Linked DNA regions of Homo sapiens: regions 1, 3 and 4 are each linked to region 2. The links are contacts of gene promoters, found by promoter capture Hi-C in blood cells and fetal thymus (Javierre and others, 2016). All regions are on one chromosome and are shown on one strand. The core of a region is centred on a gene start or on the middle of the fragment in contact, and the rest is flanking DNA. Distances in the headings are between cores, read along the strand shown.

Region 1 (2,700 bases), core at 143-2,642, 170 kb before region 2:
TTGCTCTGTCACCCAGGCTGGATTGCAGTGGTGCGATCTCGGCTTACTGCAACCTCCGCCTCCCGGGTTCAAGCAATTCTCCTGTCTCAGCCTCCCTCCCGAGAAGTTGGGACTACAGGCACCCACCACCACACCCAGCTAATTTTTTTTATTTTTAGTAGAGACGGGGTTTCACCATATTGGTCAGGCTGGTCTCGAACTCCTGACCTCAGGTGATCAGCCTGGCTCAGCCTCCCAATGTGCTGGGATTTCAGATGTGAGCCACCACGCCTGGCCTATTTTTATTTTTTATTTATTTACTTATTTATTTTTGAGATGGAGTCTTGATCTGTTGCCCAGGCTGGAGTGCAGTGGTATGATCTTGACTAACTGCAACCTCTGCCTCCCGGGTTCAAGCGAGTCTCCTGCCTCAGCCTCCCGAGTAGCTGGGATTACAGGTGCCCACCACCACGCCTGGCTAATTTGTGTATTTTTAGTAGAGATGAGATTTCACCCTGTTAGCCAGGCTGGTCTTAAGCTCCTGACCTCAGGTGATCTGCCCGCCTCAGCCTCCCAAAGTGATGGGATTACAGGTGTGGGCCACTGTGCCTGGCCAAAAACTTAAAAGCTTGAAAAACTCATTTTAAAAGCACCAGAGGCTGGGCATGGTGGCTGGTCTGGAACCTGGAATTTGAGACCCACCTGGCCAACATGGGGCCAATATGGCGAAACCCCACCTCTACTAAAAATACAAAAGTTAGCTGGGCGTGGTGGTGGGCACCTGTGATTCCAGCTACTCGGGAGGCTGAGGCAGGAGAATCGCTTGAACCCGAGAGGCGGAGGTTTCAGTGAGCCAAGATCGCACCACTCCACTCCAACCTGGGCGACGTAGCAAGGCTCCATCTCAAAAAATGTATAAGTAAATAAATAAATAAATAAAAGTTTTCATTGGTAGGAGGACTTGCTTGAATTATCTAGTCATATATATGCAGAATTGGTGGTCCCATTGACCCTCAAGTGAGGCATCCAATAGGCAGCAAATATTTTCAGGGAAGGTGGGGTCCTCGCTGTATTATGGAAGAAATCATGATTGGTCTAAGTCAATCATGGTAACCCTCTTCCTCTTCGCCTATCCGGGGTGGGCATATGACCCAGGTTTCACCAAAAAGACACAAGAGGAAGACTCCAGGGAACTTGTGGATGAATTTTTGTGCCCTTATAAAAGAGAGCTGTTGAGGAACCAGAGCCCTTTCTCTTTTTTTTTGCATTGGGATGATGTTATATAAGGAAGGCACAGTTGATTCTGTGGCAACATCTTATAACTGAGAGAGAAGTGAAGAAAATTGCAAAGATGTCAACTCCTGCTTCTTGATATTGTGAAGCCTCTTAAAAACTTTGGAACTTTTTGCTTCTGGGCTTCTTGAGGAAACAGTCAACATCCTTATGGTTTTGCTGTTAGTCAGGTTTTCTGTTATGTGTAGGCCAAAGCATTCCTAGCCGACATGTCATCCCTGAAGTCTCAGCTTTAAATGTCATTCCTCAGGGAGACCTTCCTGAAACCCCCAGATCAACACATTCTGTAACACTCCCCACTGTCCCTGAGTGGTCCTCATCACACTTGTAATTATTATTACTATTAATTTTTTTTTTTTTTTTGAGATGGAGTCTCACTCTGTCGCCCAGGCTGGAGTGCAGTGGTGCAATCTCGGTTCACTGCAAGCTCCGCCTCCCAGGTTCACGCCATTCTCCTGCCTCAGCCTCCCGAGTAGTAACTGGGACTACAGGTGCCCACCACCACGCCCAGCTAATTTTCTTTCGTATTTTTAGTACAGATGGGATTTCACCATGTTAGCCAGGATGGTCTCAATCTCCTGACCTCTTGATCCGTCTGCTTCGGCCTCCCAAAGTGCTGGGATTACAGGCGTGAGCCACTGCGCCTGGCACTTGTAATTATTAATATTTATTGAATGATGGTCTTTGTCTCAGGGCTATTTGCTCCACCAGAGCAGAGACTATGACAGGCATCCCAGAGCCTAGCCCAATGACAGGCACAGGAGCCACTAAATAAATAGCAAAAAAAAAAAAAAAAAAAAAAATCAAAGGATCTAGAGCACAGGTGGAGGGAGAAGCAGGATAAATCCGTGAAAGGTGTGAATTGAAATATGTGCAGCTGGGCTTCTGCTATCACATGGAAACTTTAAAGCTTAATGAATCATTAAAGAAGGGTTGGAATGACCATTGTGGGAACGGGGTGTGAGTGTTTATCTGGTACAGTAAGAGCTGCCAAGTAGTGTTAAAGGCCCAGCTGGGATTAGAAACCATACGTGTGCATTGGCAGAAACCAGCAGAATTAGAAGATTTCCTCCAGCAGCGTTCAGCCATCTGAGTGTGGGAGAGAAGCTGGGTAATTAGGTCAGCCCCAAAATGGGGGCTTGGTGGGCAGGCTGCTGCCTTTTGTTCCTTTCTCAGATGAAGTAAATGAAAATAGATGTGGAATTTTGTTTTCCTTGTCCCCAAAATGAAACCTTGTAGAACTCAAAGGCTTGCCCTTTGGCCCTAGACTGGAGCCAAAAAGGCTGAAGCATTTACCCCAAACGTCTTCCCCTATGGCCTGCTTGCCTAGCAGGGCCCATGGAAAGATTTGTGGGGATCTGTGATTTTTTTTTTTTTTTGAGGTGGAGTCTCGCTCTGTCACCCAGGCTGGAGTGCAGTGGCGCCATC
Region 2 (2,776 bases), core at 12-2,511:
TTTCTCAATTTAAAAAAAAAAGTCAAAGAACATGTCTTTTATTCTATGTACTACGGTCAAAAGAAACTGCACTAAATCATTTGTGATAAAGTTTATAGTTAGCATACTTTATTTTATATAAATCTAGATATCAGTTTTTAAGATAATATATAACAAATATTTTAAATCAGCAATTATATAAAGGAGTATCTTTTTCAAGATCAAAATAATGGTATTTAAGAGTTGCTATGACTGGACTCGTTTCTACTCCTCTAGCAATATTTCCCATTGCTCCTAATAAGTAGTGTTGCCAGACTTTTTCTCAAAAATGTCTCATGCTTTCTTTCTGCTTCTGCTCCTCTGTACTTGCTGGGGTCTTCACCCTTTTCTCTTCCTCTTTACATTCTACCCATTCTTTAAAGGCCTTGTGAAGGCCTTTAAGTGACCTCCTCTTTTCTATTACCTATGTGTCTCATGGCCACTCCCTCAGCTGTTTCACAGAGCTTTATTTATACTCACTTCCTTTAAAGTATTTATTATAGTCTTTCTCTTGGTATAGCTGTCTCTCAACTGTAAACTTCTTAAGAACAGGGATATTGTCTTCTTGGGTTTATATATTCTCCATAGCAACTAGCACTGTCTTTAACATTGTTATTGCTCGATAAATTTATATTGATTAAAATGAATACTCAGAAGTGCATGTGAACATTTAAAATAGAAATACAAATGAAGTGAGCTACAAAAGTTTTTTTGTACAAGGGTATATTTCAAATATAATTTGTTATGGGAGGTGGGAAGAAAAGTGAAGGAGGAAGAGAACCATGAAATAAATTCTTAAGCGCACTAAGCCTATCTGGCACTGTGAATAGGGACTATTTCCTAAACCAATCCAAGAAACTTTAAACCTTCGCGGGGCAGGGGGGGAGGGGGAGAGGGGGCGGTTTCTTTGAGAAATTAGTTTCATCTGCACATTTACTAGTTAAAAATCCTACTTGAAAGAAAACAAATGGCCCAAATGAATACAAACCTTTCCCTCCCATAAAATAATAATTTTAAAAAATAGAGGTTTTTTTTGGTGGGGGGAAGGGACGTTAGGAAATGTAATTTTCTCGTTGCTTACCTGATGTTACTCCTGGGTTATGGCTGGACGCAGGCTGTAGCTTGTGCTGTATTTTAGAAGGACACCTGTTCTCCCCACCCCACCCCCGTCCTAGTAGGTGAAAAACTTAGCCACGCAGAGAGCACAAACTTCCTGATCCTTCGATGCAGAGAAGGAATAACACATCAGCTTCCTCAGGATCACTAGGCAACCTACCTTGGTGTTTCTTCATTGCGCCAATCAGAAATCACCAAGGTTGAGTCCCGCCAATCGGAGCTCACAGGGGGAGGCTCTCCCCCAGCTATTCTGTTGCGATCCAGACAAACACCACCAAAAGGAGGCAGGTTTGCGTTCAACCTGACAGCTGGTCAATCCAATGAAGGAACCTTGGTGGAAGAGAGGAAAGAGGGCTGCGCTCCCCACCCCCATTAAACCAGCCAATCAAAGCGCTGAGTGAGCTAACATGGGCTGCCAATCTCGAAAGGTTTCTGTGGGTTAATTTCAGCGTAGCAGGTGTGTTGCTGTAGTAGCGTATACTGGGACAATTAAGTGAGATGTGTTGGGATCCAAGCAATACAGCTAAAAATAAATAAATATTTTTACATTGGTTGTTTCTGACAGTCAGTTTATCCTTGACTTGACTGTTCCAGAAAAACATGATCTGGGTCAGTTTGTGTACGTTTATATGGTTTACCTTAAACAGGATGAATACATTTCTACCATCGCATATGTACCAGCATTCCCTATAGCGCTTATTACTGACAAACCCATGGATGTGTATGTTTTTGGAATATGGCTGCTGAAACTACAAGCGGCAAACAGACCAAGTTTTAAGTCTTCCTTTTTCTAAAGCAAAGAAAGCAGGCAAGGCTGGAACTAGCTCCCAGGTTTCTCATTAAAAGCACAGCATTTTTCATACTACCACTCAAAAATTCTAGAAAGTGTGCTCAACTCTTCTTGCAAAGTAATAGCTACCGAAATCATCTAAAAATTAGTATTCCCTATCCCCCCATCCTCCTACCAGCCTTTCAAATGAATGAAGCCATATTTCCTGCTACTTAAATAAAAATTAGAAGCGATAAAAGGGCCTACGTACTGAACAATATTTTATTTATGCTGCAAAAAATGCCATACTTTAAAAATCAGTCTTTTTGTCCTGTAAAAAAAAGCATAGTAAAGGTAAAGCACCAATTCTTAAATTGTACATTATATATTAAAATGTTAATACATTATGTCAAAATATTGAAGAACATTGTTTTAATAACAGCACAATGACAAAAGAGCCAGTTAAATGGTATAATTTTAACATAAGTAAAAAGTGAATCCATACCAAATTTTAATACCAAAGTAAACATTACTGTTTAGAAAAATGGCATTAGAGGGCCTTAACAGTTAGTATATATTTAAAGGAAATATTAAGTAGGTAATGAACAAAATCAATTTTGAAATTTTACTTATTACCGAATCAATTATGACATTTGTACTTTTGCTTTTATTCAAAAGTTCTATTGGATTTATCTCAAGATTAAGGACCACAATATGACAGTCAGCCAAAAACTTAGTTTTAGTGTACAAACTGCTTTAAACTACATATACATCTTCAGAGTTAGGGAAATATAATATAGGGTCCTTCAGTTTAAATGGTGAGAAGAACTCTGCAAGCCTGCAGAACAAAAATAATTTTTATATATGTTCCTT
Region 3 (2,704 bases), core at 8-2,507, 220 kb before region 2:
AGACAGTCACTACAGTTGACTATTGATACAAAGGTGCAACAGAAATATTATCCCTGCATTTTTAAATATAAGAAGTAGACATTAATTTTACCATGGTGCCTCCCTAATGTAAGTGATATTTATTGGTGGTTTTCAACAAAGGTTAACTATTAAAGAAAGAAATATTTGTCTTTATCTTCCTTTTCCCCTTGCCTCAGTCGTGTTATTCACCCCTATTCTTGATATTTTAAAGGAGGAGATTCAGTAGCATTTTCCTTTATATTATACACATGTGTCTATCCCATTTCAAGGCTCAAGTCTTACCCCCACCTCTCGCTCCCAATAGGAAATAAAGACCATTTCTGCCCTTAGTTGTTTTACATGCAAGATAAGTGCTTTCCTTCTCCCTGGACTGAAAGACTTGTTTGTATTTCTACATCTAGTACTTGGGAAATAGACAATCACTGTACTTTGAGTGTTTATATCTTTATATCTAGGGACACTGAAAAGTAAATGTTGCTTTACTACAATTTTTTTTTAATTTAGTGTCTTACCCCAAGGCATACTCAACTGATAATCTCCAGCTAGATGAGTAAAACAGTATGTGTTTAGTTTTCCAGAGAATTCTGGCAAGTTTCATATTTTCTTCCAAGTTAGTATAGAACTAACTATAGGAAGTATGGGGTTGCTTTTTCCTCCAGTAGAATATTAAAGATGGGGGAGGGTGGGCAATGTAGTGACAGAAAATGATTCTCTCAGAATGAACTTTTCAGAGAAAGAGCAGCATAAACCAGGTGCACATCATGATTTGGGAGTTTTTGCGTAATTTATTCTGTTATTTATTTGGGCTCGCCATGTGTTCTGGGGTTAGGATGCTGCAGGTCATTCATCTTCTTAATGCCTGTCTGGTCTTAAGCCAACTGTTCTTTCTTTCCTCGACCCTCTCTGCCCTGTAGCTCTCCCCACAAAAATGCATGATACCATGACCTTACGTGTGGGATGGGGTATGTAGTGTAGCAAAGAAAAGAAAGTATAGTTATATTGAGTCCTAAGACATTTGTTAGGGAAAAGCATAAGAGAAAATGGGGTGGGAGGTGGGGAAATGATATTTGACTTTCAAAATTGAAATAGGTTTTTTTTTTGCAGAAATTAAATGGGATGTTTTTCATTCTAGAATAAAAGAATGTGAATTCTCTTTGCTGCTCTTGTTTAAGCTAAAAGTAGTGTTTACTTGATAAGGCTCTCTGACCATTTAATTTTTATCAGAAAATGTGGGGATGTCAGGAAAGTGGCTTCCTGAACGTTGGGGCGGGATAATTGTCCTCAAAAGTATGATGGTTAATACATGAAAGGAAGACTTTGTTGGACAGTTTCGAAGGTGGGCTTTTAAGGAGTTGGGTTTTTGTGGGGTACTTTTTTGTTTTTTAAGCCACAAAATCCTCAATATGTTTGTTTTAGGATGGAAGTGAGGATTTGTATGAGACTGTCAGCTATTAATTTTAAGGAAATCTTAAAATTTACATTTACATCAGTAAATGAAGATGACAGTGTGTATATATGTGATAAATAGTGAAACAGAAAAGACAGTTCTGGTATTCATAACGTGAAAGAAAGGGGTTTTATTCTTTCTGTGTCTGTGATTTAAAACTCCGTGACCATGCTCTGACTTTTGTATTTCAACCTGAGTTTAAACAAATAAACAAGATATTTTTTAAAGAAAGCATAACATAGTGTGTCTTAGCAAGGACATGATTCATATGGAAGCAGAATGTGAGAAGTTGTAAGGTCCTTGGTACTCACTGTAAAATCACAGACAGAGAATTGGTAGGGGTTGTGAATACACTAGTACCACTTAAAGTTCAGTGATACAGTTCAGAAATAGGGTCCTTAAGTATTTTGAAAGAGTTTACTCTTCAGTCAGCTTAGATGAGAGCTCTCTCCCTGCTCCCCTCTACCCTCTCAAAAGTTGAGAGTAAATAGAATTTGGTTTGATTCCAGGGAGGGGAAAATAAGCAGAGAATAGGACTTTTATACTTTCCAATACCAGGAATAAAATGTTTGTGATATATATGGGTCCAGCAAACCTATCGAGATAATGTGAATACGATAAACTTCCTAATGGCAGGATATTCACTCTCAATCCTGAAGTTACCGGTTCCTGCAGAATTGAGCTTCAGCTGTTACTGTTTTGAAGCCGCTGTAAATTACTGCTTTCCCCAGTTCCCCCACTATTTTTTTTAAGTGGGCGGGGGCGCCTGTTAAGATCTAAAATAGATATGTTGGATTGATATTCTCACGTGTTCGGTGTGGAAAACAAAACAAGTACATGCTTTAGAAGCAACAACAATGAAATCCTTTTGAAATGTGTGTTAATATCGTTTAATAAAATAACTAGTTTGAAAGGTTTGACATTTTTCTTTGAGACGGGCTTGGACCAGGGGCCCCTGGCTTCCTAGTGAGTGCAAATAGGAGGGAACTTCTCAGGAGCTGAAACCGCTGCTTTGTGGAGCAGGCCTGTGGTTGGAAAACCTAAGTTTTCTCTAGCAAAGACCCAGCCTGACTGTCCAGGGCCGAAGGTGAAACCAACTAGAGAATGCAGAAGGAAAAGCCTGGATATATCTCAGAAGATATGGTTGTATTGGCTTTTGGTCCAAGGGTATGGGGGTGGGAGTAGTGGTGTGTGCGCCCACACATTTCTCAGGCACACACAGAGATACCACAGACC
Region 4 (2,700 bases), core at 142-2,641, 240 kb before region 2:
TGAAACCCCGTCTATACTAAAAATAGGAAAAATTAGCCAGGCATGGTGGCGGGTGCCTGTAATCCCAGCTACTTGGGAGGCTGAGGCAGGAGAATCGCCTGAACCCAGGAGGCAGAGGTTGCAGTGAGCCGAGATCACACCATTGCACTCCAGCCTGGGCAAGAGAGCAAGACTCTGTCTCAAAAAAAAAAAAAAAAAAGAGAGAGAGAGAAACTGAGAAACTGGACAAAAGCACAGGGAGAACATCATGTGACAGCATAGGCAGATATTGAAGCCATGCAGCTACAAGCCAAAAACATCAAGGATTGATGGGCACCACCAGAAACCAGGAAATGGCAAGGAAGAATTCTGCCCAGTGTCAGAGAGAGCACAGCCTGCTGACATCTTAATTTTGGACCACTAGCCTTCAGAGACAATAAATTTCTGTTGTTTTAAGCCACTCATTTTGTAGTACTTAATTAACCACTGCCCTAAGAAACTAATATACCAATTAATGAATGTTTTGTGAGGAAGTATTTTGAAACTATGTAAATATCTTGTTCCTTACCAGACTTTCGATGTATTCATTTATTTATATGAATGGACTTGAATCCTATTTACTCACTGTTTTAATTCATTACTACTAATATTTACTTTGATGCTCAGTTTGACAAAGTTTTGGTCAATGTGAGCTCCTTTCTGTGTTCTTTTGACATATCCCCTTTTTTTTTTTTTTTTTTTTTTTTTGAGACGAACTTTCCACTCTTGTTGCTCAGGCTGGAGTGCAGTGGCACGATCTCGGCTCACTGCAACCTCCGCCTCCCAGGTTTAAGCAATTCTCCTACCTCAGCCTCCCAAGTAGCTGGGATTACAGGCATTCGCCACCACGCCTGCCTAATTTTATATTTTTAACAGTGATGGGGTTTCACCATGTTGGCCAGGCTGGTCTCAAACTCCTGACCTCAGGTGATCCGCCTGCCTCTGCCTCCCAAAGTGCTGAGATTACAGGCGTGAGCCACTGGCACCACTTTTTTACACTACTAATTACTTTTCTAACAGTGTAAAACCTTGCTCCCTTGTCTTCAATATATTTACTTTTTTTTTTTTTTTGGAGACGGAGCCTCGTGCTGTTGCCCAGGCTGGAGCGCGGTGGCACAATCTTGGTTCACTGCAACCTCTGTCTCCCGGGTTCAAGCGATTCTCCTGCCTCAGCCTCCTGAGTAGCTGGTACTACAGGCGCACACCACCACGCCCAGCTAATTTTTGTATTTTTAGTAGAGACGAGGTTTCACCATATTGGTCAAGCTGGTCTTGAACTCCTGACCTCATGATCTGTGCTCCTTGGCCTCCCAAAGTGCTGGGATTACAGGCGTGAGCCACCGCGCCTGGCCTCAGTGTTTTTACTTAATCAGTTGTGGCCAGTCTCCCAGCACTTCCATCTCTCTCCAACCACCTTTATGGGTTTTCTTTTTATCCTGCTTAGACTCCAACATCCTTTGCAATGCCTCCCTCCCATGCAGACATTTTTCTCATTTTTGGGTCCATTCTCTCTAAGCCACTGAGTTTTTTCCCTCAGCTCCAGCTAATGGGTTGTGGACTAAATTGCTCACAGAGGAAGGGAAAGAAATTTTTCACTATTTTCATGAACATATTAATCATAGCTGTTTGGTTTTTGTCATATAGTTCCAATATTGGCTTCACCTGTTACGGGTATGTTAGTGGTGTTTGGTGTTTTTGTTTTGTTTTGTTTAGTGCCCAGAGGTAGCTGCTAATGTAGTGTCTGCATTTTCTTTTTAGCCATTTGGACCTATCTCTTAGCATGCCTGCTAATTTTTTATCGAATGCTGAACATTAAAAGATTATGGAGTCTCTGGATGATTTTTCTTCCTTTAGAGACAGTTCACCCTTGTTTTGCTAGGCAGATATTGAGGCTGGTCATATTAATTAAATCTGAAACCTAACTGACTCGAGGCTGAATTGCAGTTTAAGCAAGCCTTGTTCCACCTCTGGTTCACTCCAGCTTCTGGAATGTAGATTTTTCCCACAGAGAGCCTGGAATGATCACTAAGCCCCCTTCTCCATGGCATGATTTGAACTCTCTAGTCCTTGTTTCCTCATCACTATGAGACCACTGCTTTTTCCAAGGTTTTCTGCTTGGCTTCTTCCCTCTCAAGCAGCTTCAGAATTCAGCAAATATCTTGAAGGAAAAATTGTTGAGCCAGTTCTCTCTTTCATCAGAATCTTGGCCTTTCAGTCCTCTAATTTTTGCCTGTTAAGACCAGCAAGACTGTTAAAAGCTCTGCTTTTTTTCTTTTTATTTAATAGTGGCCCTCTCTTGTCCTTTTTGCCTTAATTCTCAGCTTCTTGCCTAGCTCCCCAGAATCAGCAGAATCCTAAGAGAAAATAATGTCAGCTTAGCTCTCCATGCTTTCCCTCTGATAGTATTTGCCACTTAGTTTTTGGTGGCCTTAGCACTCTCCAGTATATTCAAACAAGTGTGTCTGTGTATCTGGCTTTTCTACTTGTTCTTGATGGGAGCATTAGTCTACTATAAGCTACTGAGTTATATCAAAAGCAAAAAGCTAGATTCTAATGTATTCATATCTTTTTAAAAATAATGCTTCTTGGCTGGGCACAGTGGCTCACACGTGTAATCCCAGCACTTTGGGAGGCTGGGGCAGGCGGATCACCTGAGGTCAGGAGTTCGAGATCAACCTAGCC

Evidence for each region. The method cuts DNA at HindIII sites, captures the fragments that hold promoters and counts their contacts. A CHiCAGO score of 5 or more calls a contact.
Region 1: a fragment that was not itself captured here is called in contact with the fragment with the promoter of GOLPH3L in region 2 in 1 of 17 cell types (neutrophils); the score reaches 5.6 in neutrophils.
Region 3: a contact is called between a fragment that was not itself captured here and the fragment with the promoter of GOLPH3L in region 2, in 1 of 17 cell types (neutrophils). The highest score is 7.4, in neutrophils.
Region 4: a contact is called between a fragment that was not itself captured here and the fragment with the promoter of GOLPH3L in region 2, in 1 of 17 cell types (neutrophils). The highest score is 6.1, in neutrophils.

What each region holds. Positions count from the first base shown.
Region 1 is chr1:150,526,965-150,529,664 of GRCh38, forward strand. All of the region lies in intron 3 of FALEC (focally amplified lncRNA regulator of ECM1), which reads left to right. Among named protein-coding and RNA genes, the nearest start is that of FALEC, 13 kb to the left of the region's middle. The HindIII fragment of the contact is 1,575 bases long and covers 606-2,180 here.
Region 2 is chr1:150,695,893-150,698,668 of GRCh38, forward strand. It overlaps GOLPH3L (golgi phosphoprotein 3 like), which reads right to left and starts at 1,262. Exons shown (of 5, transcript NM_018178.6): 1 at 1,100-1,262. It overlaps HORMAD1 (HORMA domain containing 1), which reads right to left. Exons shown (of 15, transcript NM_032132.5): 15 at 2,168-2,776. The coding sequence ends at 2,762. The HindIII fragment of the contact is 16,001 bases long and covers 1-2,776 here.
Region 3 is chr1:150,474,186-150,476,889 of GRCh38, forward strand. It overlaps RPRD2 (regulation of nuclear pre-mRNA domain containing 2), which reads left to right. Exons shown (of 11, transcript NM_015203.5): 11 at 1-2,381. Among named protein-coding and RNA genes, the nearest start is that of TARS2, 12 kb to the right of the region's middle. The HindIII fragment of the contact is 9,461 bases long and covers 1-2,704 here.
Region 4 is chr1:150,451,961-150,454,660 of GRCh38, forward strand. All of the region lies in intron 7 of RPRD2 (regulation of nuclear pre-mRNA domain containing 2), which reads left to right. Among named protein-coding and RNA genes, the nearest start is that of TARS2, 34 kb to the right of the region's middle. The HindIII fragment of the contact is 9,549 bases long and covers 1-2,700 here.